Regions from separate parts of the Homo sapiens genome. Here region 2 is linked to region 1. Evidence: promoter capture Hi-C in 16 types of primary human blood cells and fetal thymus (Javierre and others, 2016). All regions are on one chromosome and are shown on one strand. The core of a region is centred on a gene start or on the middle of the fragment in contact, and the rest is flanking DNA. Distances in the headings are between cores, read along the strand shown. Region 1 holds the start of IRF2BPL (interferon regulatory factor 2 binding protein like). Region 2 overlaps SPTLC2 (serine palmitoyltransferase long chain base subunit 2).

Region 1 (4,470 bases), core at 1,971-4,470:
GACTCACTCCAGGGTAGCGGTAGTGTGGGGAGGGCTGAAGTCTGGGAGAGTGAGGCAATGCTCCCCAAGCAACTCTTTGCAGAGGAATCACTGCAAAGTGCCAGCAGGCCAGAGAAAGTTTATTATTGCTCTAGAGTGCACAGTGAGCTCACTGTTTTGCAAAAACAGAAATCTGGCTGCTTTGAGATGAAAGAGGGGCTCCCTAGGGCTCCTCCTCCTCTTCTGTCCTTAAAAACTCGCCTTTCCTTTGCACTCAGGGGCCCCAGAATGAGTGGGAGATTGGGGCTCTGGGGAGGGTTGGATAGGGGAACAGGCTCTGGAAGTCAAGTGTCAAAATAAAAGTAAGTATCTCTTGTTGCTTCCACTGAACTTTATTGCAATTACTAGTAATAAGAGTGATAATAGTGATCCTCACAATTTATGCAGTTTACTAAGTACTGTCACATGTCAACCAGCAATAGTACCAACACTAGTATCAATACTAATAATAACTAACACTAACTGTGAGTCCAACACTGCTCTCCATTCTGTATGGTGTATTTAAGTTACAGTCTGGTAGTGACAGATCTACAACTTCTGTATATAGAACTCAGTGGTACAAATGCGCTTGGAAGGGGAGGCTGGGGGTTGGTTATGAAGGTGTATTGGCATAGTACTTACGTAAGATTGTATGTAACACCAAATCAACTGGGGCTGATGGGAATTTTGAGCACCCCAAACCACCTCTGCAAGCCTGAGCTTGTCAAAGACACCTCAAATCAGATTTACTGGATTCAAATCCCAGCCCCATCACTAATGGCTGTAGGCAAGTTATATAGCCTCTTTACTTTCCTGGTTTGTAAAATGGAGGTAAAAGAATCTACCCTGTAGATAATATTAAGGGTTTAATACTGTAATAGGCCGGTCACGGTGGGTCATGCCTGTAATCCCAGCACTTTGGGAGGCTGAGGCGGGAGGATCACCTGAGGTCAGGAGTTCGAGACCAGCCTGGCCAACATGGTGAAAGTCCGTCTCTACTAAAAATACAAAAATGAGCTGGGTGTGGTGGCGGGCGCCTGTATCCCCAGGTACTTGGGAGACTGAGGCAGGAGAATTGCTTGAACCTGGGAGGTGGAGGTTGCAGTGAGCTGAGATTGCGTCACTGTACTCCAGCCTGGGTGACAGAGTGGACTCTGTCTCAAAACAACAACAAAATACTATAGATAATATCCCCTTAATAATGTAGATAATATTAAGGGTGATGCAAGTAAAGCCACCTAGTTTACTAAGGTCCCACGGCAAGTCTAAGTAAGCGTTATCTCTTCTTATGACAAGAAACAAATTGAGGCCGGGTGAGGTGGCTCATGCCTGTAATCCCAACACTTTGGGAGGCCAAGGTGGGTGCATCACTTGGGCCCAGGAGTTTGAGACCAGCCTGGGCAACACGGCAAAACCCCATCCCTTTCCAAAAATACAAAAAAATTGGCCAGGTGTAATGGCACATGCCTGTAGTCCCAGCTACTAGGGAGGCTGAGGTGGGAGGATTACTTGAGCCTGGGAGGTCAGGCTGCTGCCAGCCGCGAGTGTGCCACTGCACTCCAGCCTGGGCAACAGAACAAGATCCTATCTCAAAAAAACAAAAAACCGAAGTTGAAATCTCAAACAACCCTAACAACCTGGGAGCTATCATTCCATTCTCTTTTCCATGGAAAAGAGAGATTTTGTGGGTAACTAGCTTAAGGGTGGAGAGCCAGTTAGTGATGGAGAGGAAATTTCAATCTGGTGGGCCACACTTCAGAATCCGAAATCCCATTATATTGCTTTCCCTTCTCCAGCCTTCCCTGGGATTATCTCAGTTTTCATGAAATAAAAAAAAAAAAAAAAGCAAACCCAATAATTAGAATAATCAATAGAAATGCCCCAACTAGAGCTATGACCAACATATCCATCGTGCCATAAGCAATACTGATGAGCAGTGATCTTGTAAGGCAGAAGAAATCACGGCCTTGGCCGGGCGTGGTGGTTCATGCTTGTAATCCCAGCACTTTGGAAGGCCGAGGCGGGAGGATCACCTGAGGTCAGGAGTTCAAGACCAGCTGGCTAACATGGTGAAACCATGTCTCTACAAAAATACAAAAAATTAGCTGGGCCTGATGGCGGGTGCCGGTAATCACAGCTACTTGGGAGGCTGAGGCGGAAGAATCGCTTGAACCTGCGAGGCAGAGGTTGCAGTGAGCCGAGATCGCGCCATTTTGCACTCCAGCCTGGGCGACAGAGCAAGACTCCGTCTTAAAAAAAAAAAAAAAAAAAAATCACGGCCTTGTTCCGCCTTCTGGGGCAACATGGAGTGAGATCACAGCGCCTGAGAAAGAACTTTGAAAACTGCGGCTGTGCTTTACAAAAATGTATCAGTATTATTAAATGCTGCCTCCACCTTTTAAAAATCAAACTCTAGAAAAAACACTCACCTGTTTGGCCTCTCCGGCCCCTCCCCCTCCCTGCCCTGAACTGCAGCTGTGCGCAGCCAGTTGCCTGTTTTCCTTAAAGGCCTCGGGGTGCTCGTATCTTCTTCAGACGTTCAGCCAAAATTTTTAAAGTGCGGCTGGGGGGAAGGGTAGCGCACTCTGAATTCATTTAGCTCTATCGTTGAAGCCCGGGTTCCTAGATCAGGGCACAAAAACAAATAGAAAAGACAATTTCTGGAAGATTGGAAAACAGCTAATTTTGCAGGTGCTTCGGCATCAGTGGTGGCGATGAATTTAACATCCATGCCGGGGGGGATAAGGTTCAACCGCAGATGAAATGGTTAATACCTTATACGAAATTCACGGCGAAAAATCCTGAAACAGGACATTTAAATTCACTGCCGAGGCTTGGGGGTGGGGTGGGGAGCAGGGATCGGAAACGACGCTAGTGGTTCTTAAATGCGTTTTTACTTGGGAATGCCCGGCAGGGAAAGGAAAGGTCATCGTCTGTTTAATTTCCACCCCCAGCTCTGGACTTCCAGCATTAGCTCGCCGGGCCTCAGCTGTTGTACACACACGGCGAGGGGGGAGGGGAGGGCGGAGGCGCGGAGGAGGGGCCGGCTGGGAGGAATCTGGGCGTCCTGCCGCGCATGCGCCTTGCCTGAGCAACAAGTGGGCTCCACAGAGGAAGTGTAAAGGGGAGGGGGAAGAACTGGTGCAGAGCATGGCGGTGACGTCAGCGCTCCGCCCGGGCGGCATCCCGCGCGGCCAAGCCGGGGACAGCGCGAGCCGCAGCCGGAGCAGGAGCGCCGAGACGCGCCTCCGGAACGTAGAGTAACAATCACAACCCCACATTCCGGGCGAGCGTGAGCACGAGCGGGAAGGGATGCGACCCGGGCCGAGGCGCCGCGCGAGCGCCCTGCAGCCAACGTGAGCGCCGCCAGCCGCGGCGGCCCGGGCGCCGGCCAGGCCTGGGGGCGGCGGGAGCCTGCGTGCGTGCACTCCTCTCCTCTGCTCTCGTGCGTCCTGGAAGCAGTGGCCGCGGCGGCTCCCTCCGGGGTGCAAACCCAGTCGCCGCCAGCAGAACGGCCGACGCTGCGGAGGGGAGAAGGTCCTTTCTCGGCTGCCACCCCCTCCCCCGGTCCTCCGGGGAAGCAGCGGCTTCAGCAAGATTGGACCCGGGCACCGGGTGGCACTGAACCCTCTGGCCCTCGCCCCAGGGGGCCCGTCGGGGAGAGGACGCAGCTCGTAGGGGGGTCCCCGGGGAGAGGAAGAGACAGCCCCTTTCGAGCTTCCACGCACCAGCCACTCCGGGGAGGGGGCCAAGAGGCAACGGCGGCCACCACCGGGCACCCTCGCCCCCTCCCCTCGGGCCGGGAGCTTCCAGCCCAAGTCTGCAGCACCAGGAAGAAGGCGCCTGAGCTCCCCTCGCGACGAGTCAACCGCAGTAGGAGGTGGGGGCGAAGAGAGGGCTGAACCCGTCCGCTGCCCGGGCGGTGGAGCCCCCACGGCGAGGCGCTGCGCCGGCGGTGGAGACTCGCGTTCCCTCCAGCCCCTGGGGCAGAACTTTCTCGCCCCCCCTCCTCCCTCCCCCGCAGTCGGACTCCCTCCCCAGCCGGCCAGTCCTCCCGGAGGAGAAGGCGCCGCGGAGACAGCCCGGGCGGGGGCCTACCTTCCCCAGGGCAGGCATCATGTCGGCGGCGCAGGTGTCCTCGTCCCGGAGACAATCTTGCTACCTGTGCGACCTGCCCCGCATGCCCTGGGCCATGATCTGGGACTTCTCGGAACCCGTATGCCGCGGTTGCGTCAACTACGAGGGCGCTGATCGCATCGAATTCGTGATCGAGACAGCGCGCCAGCTGAAGCGGGCGCACGGCTGCTTCCAGGACGGCCGCTCCCCCGGGCCGCCGCCGCCCGTCGGGGTCAAGACAGTGGCCCTGTCGGCTAAGGAAGCGGCGGCGGCGGCGGCAGCAGCGGCGGCCGCCGCCGCCGCCGCGCAACAGCAACAGCAACAGCAGCAGCAGCA
Region 2 (6,310 bases), core at 2,356-4,855, 560 kb before region 1:
TTAGAGTTTTTTTGTGGTTCCTGTGCGTCCGAGGAAAAGAGGCAGGTGTGGGGTGAGCAAAGTCAACGCTGAGACGAGCCAGTGAACATTGATTGTAGAAGAAACAATTATTCAGGTAATGGATAGTGGTCATGTGCAAATGGGAAGAGTATATCACGAAAACATTGTCAGTTACTAGGAAGACAAAACCAGTCAGTAGATACATGGATTCAAAAGTGGCTCCTGGGAGAACTCAAGATTAGGCATCCTTTCTCTCTCATCTCAACCATCTTGTACTCCATCCGAGCCCCAGCACAAGTTGGCCATCCTACTCATTGCCCTGCAAGTTAATTTCACAAAGAAGGTAAATAAGTTTTTTGAATGCAAAGCCCTGCATTCAGAAGTTGGTCCAGTAACCCTAAGTAATTTTTATCTTTTAAAACCCAAACACATTTTTAACATTTTTTATTTTATTATCATTATTTTTTAGACAAGAGTCTCGCTCAGTCACCCAGGCTGGAGTACAGTGGTGTGATCTCGGCTCACTGCAACCTCCGCCTCCCGGGTCCAAGCAATTCTCATGCCTCAGCTTCCCAAGTAGCAGGGAGTACAGGCATGTGCTACCACTCCCGAGATAATTTTGTATTTTTAGTAGAAACGAGGTTTCACCATGTTGGCCAGGCTGTTCTCAAACTCCTTGACCTCAAACGATCCACCTGCCTCGGCCTCCCAAAGTGCTGGGATTACAGATGCGAGCCACTGTGCCTGGCCCACATTTTTAATACGTTTTGATCCCCCTTCTCCCCCTGAGCATGTCCACTCAGAGTGCATCTACAGTACGTTGATTTTGTATAGCCCTCAGTGACAGCTTACCATACCCTTCCTAGGTTGTACAGTATTGTAGTTACTTGTTCACAGGCCTGTATCCTCCTACTAGACTGAGTTGATGGCAGTTATGACCGATGGTAGCTGAAGTTTTATTTAAATATTCAAACTAAAAACTCTTTATCTGCAGGGACCTCTCCTAGTGTAGATGCATAGTCGAAACTTGATAATTGACGTGTATTGCTGGTGGTGAGGGAAGTGCTGATTGTGGTGCAGACAGCACATTCCTGGATGAGGGGATAGTATAGGCAAAGGCATGAAGAATGTTTGGGAGAATCTGGAATGTAGACAGAAGAGAAATTGTGTTTTGAAAATCAAAGTAAGAAGTTTGGTAGGCAATGAGGAGTATTGTTTTTGTTTTTGTTTTTAAATAGAGACAGCGTCTCGCCATGTTGCCCAGGCTGGTCTCAAACTCCTGTGCTCAAGCGATCCTCCTGCCTTGGCCTCCCAAAGTGTTGGGATTATAGGAGTGAGCCACCATGACCCCAAGGGCAGTTTTTGATCAGGGGATTTTTCATACAGCTTGTGCAGCTGGTGCTCAAAGTGTGATGAATGAATGAAACCAACAAGATGTATCTGAATTACTTTGTGAGTACATTATCTTTGGAACTTGTTTCATGTTTACAGAAAGTAAATTGGTGGTTTAAGTGTTGGGAGCTGCCTGTGTATCCTTTGTGTGAAAGAATTAGAACACACAGATTTTATTCTTAAGTAGTTTCTAATTTTGTTGAGGAAACAAACATTTGAAAGTTATGGGCCTTTGCAAAACCATTATACAAGTAAATAATACTTAGATTATATGAAGATATAGAACAAAAAAAGTATCTGAGTAGCATAGGGTTAATCAGGAAACAATTCTTGGAGGAAGTAATACAAGGAAATGGGAGGCTGAGGAGAGCATTTGCCTCTGCAGTTTATGGAGAGGATTTTATTAAATTATTCAAATTCATTTCAATAGAATATTCCCAGTAGATAACATTAGCATTTAAAACAGCCAACTTCTGCCATTTTCTTACAAAAATTCAGCTTTTAGAGGGAAAGGAAAAGTCATTCCTTTCCTGTGATAGATCATGTTTGTTTTCTAATGTTGGATTAGAGATGGGGAAAGAGGGAGGCAAATTAAGTGTTAAACTGGAAGGAGGTGAGGGAAAGTGGTTGCTTGGGATCATAAAATGCAAACATAATGTTGCTACTTCCTCATTTCACTGAGAGAGTGGTATTCATAACCACATCCTGGTTTTCTTCCTCATTTCATTATAAAAGAGAGCCCAGTTTAACTGTGTTAATTCTTTGATGTAAGGAAATACCGTATGTTGCTTTGAATACAACTAAATCACATGATCATACCAATAAAGATGAGTTACCATGAGTTTGTTCTATTTTATATACATTGCATAAAATTCTTGGAATTCTTTACCCCTTAATCCTCTGTTATTCGTGGTGTTTTGGATGAGAATGTTGTTTTTCTCAATCTATGGATTATTTCTTTGTGATGTGAGGTGAAGCTAGTAGTTCAGAAACACGTACGTGACAGATACAGCAAAAGCTTGAATTAATAAAGATGTTCTAGGCTGAGGCAGGAGGATCACTCAAGGCCAGGAGTTTGAGACCAGCTGACACAACATAATGAAACCTCATCTCTACAAAATGAAAAAATTTAATTCAGAAAAAAATATTCTAATATTTAGATAGGAAATAGCTAGGAACGTAAGGAGTAAATTATGGTAGGTAGTTACCACACACTGACAAAATTTTAAACTAACATTTTGCCTCCACAGCTTGTTCATGATCAGATATTTAAAAACGGGAGGACCAAATACCACATTCTCACTTATTTTTTAATTTTTTTAATTTTTTTTTTTTTTGAGATGGAGTCTCACTCTGTCGCCCAGGCTGGAGTACAGTGGCGTGATCTCGGCTCACTGCAATCTCCGCCTCCACGGTTCAAGTGATTCTCTTGCCTCAGCCTCCCAAGTAGCTGGAATTACAGTCATGCACCACCACGCCCAGCTAATTTTTTGTATTTTTAGTAGATACAAGGTTTCACCATGTTGGCCAGCCTGGTCTCAAACTCCTGACCTCAGCCTGCCTTGGCCTCCCAAAGTGCTGGGATTACAGGAGTGAGCCACCGTGCCTAGCCTGTTCTCACTTATAAGTGGGAGCTAAATGATGAGAACATATGGATACAAAGAGGAAAATGACACTTGTGGTGGGTAGGAAGAGGGAGAGGATTAGAAAAAATAACCCATTGGGTGCTAGGCTTAGTACCTGGGTGACAAAATAATCTGTACAACAAGCCATTGTGATGCGAGTTTACCTGCACAACCTGCACACGTACCCCTGAACCTAAAATAAAAGTTACAAAAAATAAGTAGATTAAAAATGGGAGGGATAGGATACGGCGAAGGGACATTATATGTTTATATCCCAATAGGCTTATTTTCAAGATACAAAAGAAAGAAAGAAATTCAAATACATTACTAGGAATTCCCAGAGGGATTTTATTCTTGGCCTCCTTCAAAAAGTAGCGTACAGCCGGGTGCGATGGCTCACACCTATAATCCCAGCACTTTGGGAGGCCGAGGTGGGTGGATCACCTGAGGTCAGGAGTTCAAGACCAGCCTGGCCAACGTGATGAAACCCCATCTCTACTAAAAATACAAAAATTAGCCAGGCGTGGTGGTGGGCACCTGTAATCCCAGCTACTTGGGAGGCTGAGGCAGGAGAATGGCTTGAACCTGGGAGGCGGAAGTTGCAGTAAGCTGAGATCTTGTCACAGCACTCCAGCCTGGGCAATAGAGACTGTCTCAAAATAAAAAAAAAAAAGTAGCGTACTAAGAATATTCTGGTACCTGTCATTTTGGTGCATTAAGCTAGGGGATTGATTGTTTGGTTTGTCTTCTTTAATTCTGTGTATGATTCTACATTTAAAAAGAACACAACTGGCTGGGCACGGCGGCTCACGTCTATAATCCTAGCACTTTGGGAGGCCAAGGCGGGCGGATCACCTGAAGTCAGGAGTTGAGACCAGCCTGACCAACATGGTGAAACCCGGTCTCTACTAAAAATACAAGAATTATCTGGGGCGTGGTGGCACATGCCTGTAATCCCTGCTACTTGGGAGGCTGAGGCACGAGAATCACTTGAACCAGAGAGGTGGAGGTTGCAGTGAGCCAAGATCACACCATTGCACTCCAGCCTGGGCAACAAGAGAGAAACTCCGTCTAAAAATAAATACATACATACATACATACATACATACATACATACATACAGAAGAGCACTACTTAGCTCCCCCAGAATCATCTGAACCTGGGAGGTGGAAGTTGCAGTGAGCTAAGATTGCACCACTGCACTCCACCCTGGACAATGGAGCGAGATTGTCTAAAAAAAATAAGAAGAATAAAAAATAAAGAGCACTGTATTTCATTGTTTTGTGTTAGTTGCTGGGCACAGGACAGCAGTAGTCTTTTTAAATAATTGACATATCATAAAGGTTACCTATTTAAAGTGTACGATACAATGGTTTTTAGTATATCTACAGAGTTGTGCAGCCAGCACCACAATTTAATTTTGTAATGTTTTTCTCTTCTGAAAAAGAAACCATGAACCATTAGCAGTCACTCCTTCCTCATCCACCCTCCCCACCCTCGGCAGCCACTAATCTACTTTCTGTCTCTGTAGATTTACTATTCGGGACTTTTCATATAAATGGATGTTTCATGTAAATGGGATCATACAGTGTATGTTCTTCTGTGTCTGGCTCCTTTCACTTGGCGTAATGTATTTGAAGTTCATGTTGTAGCATGTATCGGTACTTCATTGCTTCCTATTGCTGAATAATATTTCATCATATGGAGCAGTCATCTCTACTTACTATAGGGATTTCTCACTGGTAAAAAACTATACTCAAAATAAACCTTTCAAAGAAGCTTTGTGTAGTAGGTTTACCACTGTATCTGTTTGGACTAGTGGCAGTAGGTTTACCTCTGTATCCGTTTGGACTAGTGCCAGTGTTAGGTTTGCAAGAGTTTCCCTGTTACCTGTTTTCCCTGTTTTTCATGCCAGGAAAGCTTTTCCTTCAAATAGTCCCATGGCTAGTTCCCTCACTTCCATTTTATCCTCTGTTCTACCCAGGGCACCCCAGCTAATTTGCAGCATGTCTCCCCCTTTCCTTTTTGCTTTTGTTTCTGTTGGTATTTGTCACTGTCTAACATACTTTATTTATTTTTATTTTTATTTATTTTTATTTTCTTGAGACAGTGTCTTGCTCTGTTGCCCAGGCTGGAGTGCAATGGCGCGATCTCGGCTTACTGCAACTTCTGTCTCCCAGGTTCAAGCAATTCTCCTGCCTCAGCCTCCAGAGTGGCTGGGACTACAGGCATGTGCAACCACACCTAATTTTTGTGTTTTTAGTAGAGACAGGGCTTTGCCATGTTGGCCAGGCTGGTCTTGAACTCCTGGGCTCATGTTTATCTATCTGCCCACCTCGGCCTCCCAAAGTGCTGGGATTACAGGCGTGAGCCACTGAGCCTGGACTAGCAAACTTTGTATTTTATATGTTTATCTCTTCCACCAGAATACAAATTCCAAGAGGGCAAGGATTATTACCTTTTTGTTTACTACTCTGTACTATAGAGTGCTTGGCACATATTAGACGCTCGGTAAATGTTTAAGATACAAGGCCAGAGGCCAGGCGTGTTAGCTCACACCTGTAATTTCAAGCACTTTGGGAGGCTGAGGTGGGAAGATAGCTTGAGCGCAGGAGTTTGAGACCAACCTGAGCAATGTAACAAGACCCTGTCTCAACAAGAAAATTAAAAAATTAGCTGGGTGTGGTGGCCTACACCCATAGTCTTAGCTACTTGGGAGACTGAGGTGGGAGGATCACTTGTACCTAGGAGTTCAAGGCTGCTGTGAGCTGTGATTGAGCCACTGCACTCTAGCCTGGGTGACAGAGTGAAACCTTGTCTTTTTTTTTTTTTTTTTTGAGACAGGGTCTTGCTCTATCATCCAGGCTGGAGTGCAATCGCATGATCTCAGCTCACTGCAGTCTCTGCCTTCTGGGTTCAAGTGATTCTCATGCCTCAGCCTCCTGAGTAGCTGGGACTGCAGGCGTGCACCACCACGCCCAGCTAATTTTTTGTATTTGTGTGTGTGTGTGTGTGTGTGTGTGTGGAGACGGACTCTCGCTCTGTCGCCCAGGATGGAGTGCAATGGCGCAATCTTGGCTTACTGCAACCTCTGCCTCCCGGGCTTAAGCGATTCTTCTGCCTCAGTCTCCCAAGTAGCTGGGATTACAGGCATCTGCCATAACACCTGGCTAATTTTTGTATTTTTAGTAGAGACAGGGTTTCACCATGTTGGCCAGGCTGGTCTTGAACTCCTAACCTTAGGTAATCTGCCCACCTCGACCTCCCAAAGTACTGGGATTACAGGCATGAGC

What was found. The method cuts DNA at HindIII sites, captures the fragments that hold promoters and counts their contacts. A CHiCAGO score of 5 or more calls a contact.
Region 2: a fragment that was not itself captured here is called in contact with the fragment with the promoter of IRF2BPL in region 1 in 4 of 17 cell types (naive B cells, total B cells, naive CD8 T cells and 1 more); the score reaches 8.7 in naive B cells.

The regions. Positions count from the first base shown.
Region 1 is chr14:77,027,458-77,031,927 of GRCh38, reverse strand. It overlaps IRF2BPL (interferon regulatory factor 2 binding protein like), which reads left to right and starts at 3,220. Exons shown (of 1, transcript NM_024496.4): 1 at 3,220-4,470. The coding sequence starts at 4,136. LOC107984638 (a long non-coding RNA gene) reads right to left here and starts at 4,460. Exons shown (of 4, transcript NR_190002.1): 1 at 4,117-4,460; 2 at 2,448-2,640; 3 at 2,192-2,267; 4 at 356-2,101. It overlaps LOC105370579 (a long non-coding RNA gene), which reads left to right. Exons shown (of 2, transcript NR_169510.1): 2 at 1-369. RefSeq lists an enhancer at 1,647-2,167 and silencers at 2,931-3,060, 3,261-3,470, 3,591-4,090. The HindIII fragment of the contact is 11,624 bases long and covers 1-4,470 here.
Region 2 is chr14:77,589,522-77,595,831 of GRCh38, reverse strand. All of the region lies in intron 2 of SPTLC2 (serine palmitoyltransferase long chain base subunit 2), which reads left to right. Among named protein-coding and RNA genes, the nearest start is that of SPTLC2, 24 kb to the left of the region's middle. The HindIII fragment of the contact is 2,386 bases long and covers 2,413-4,798 here.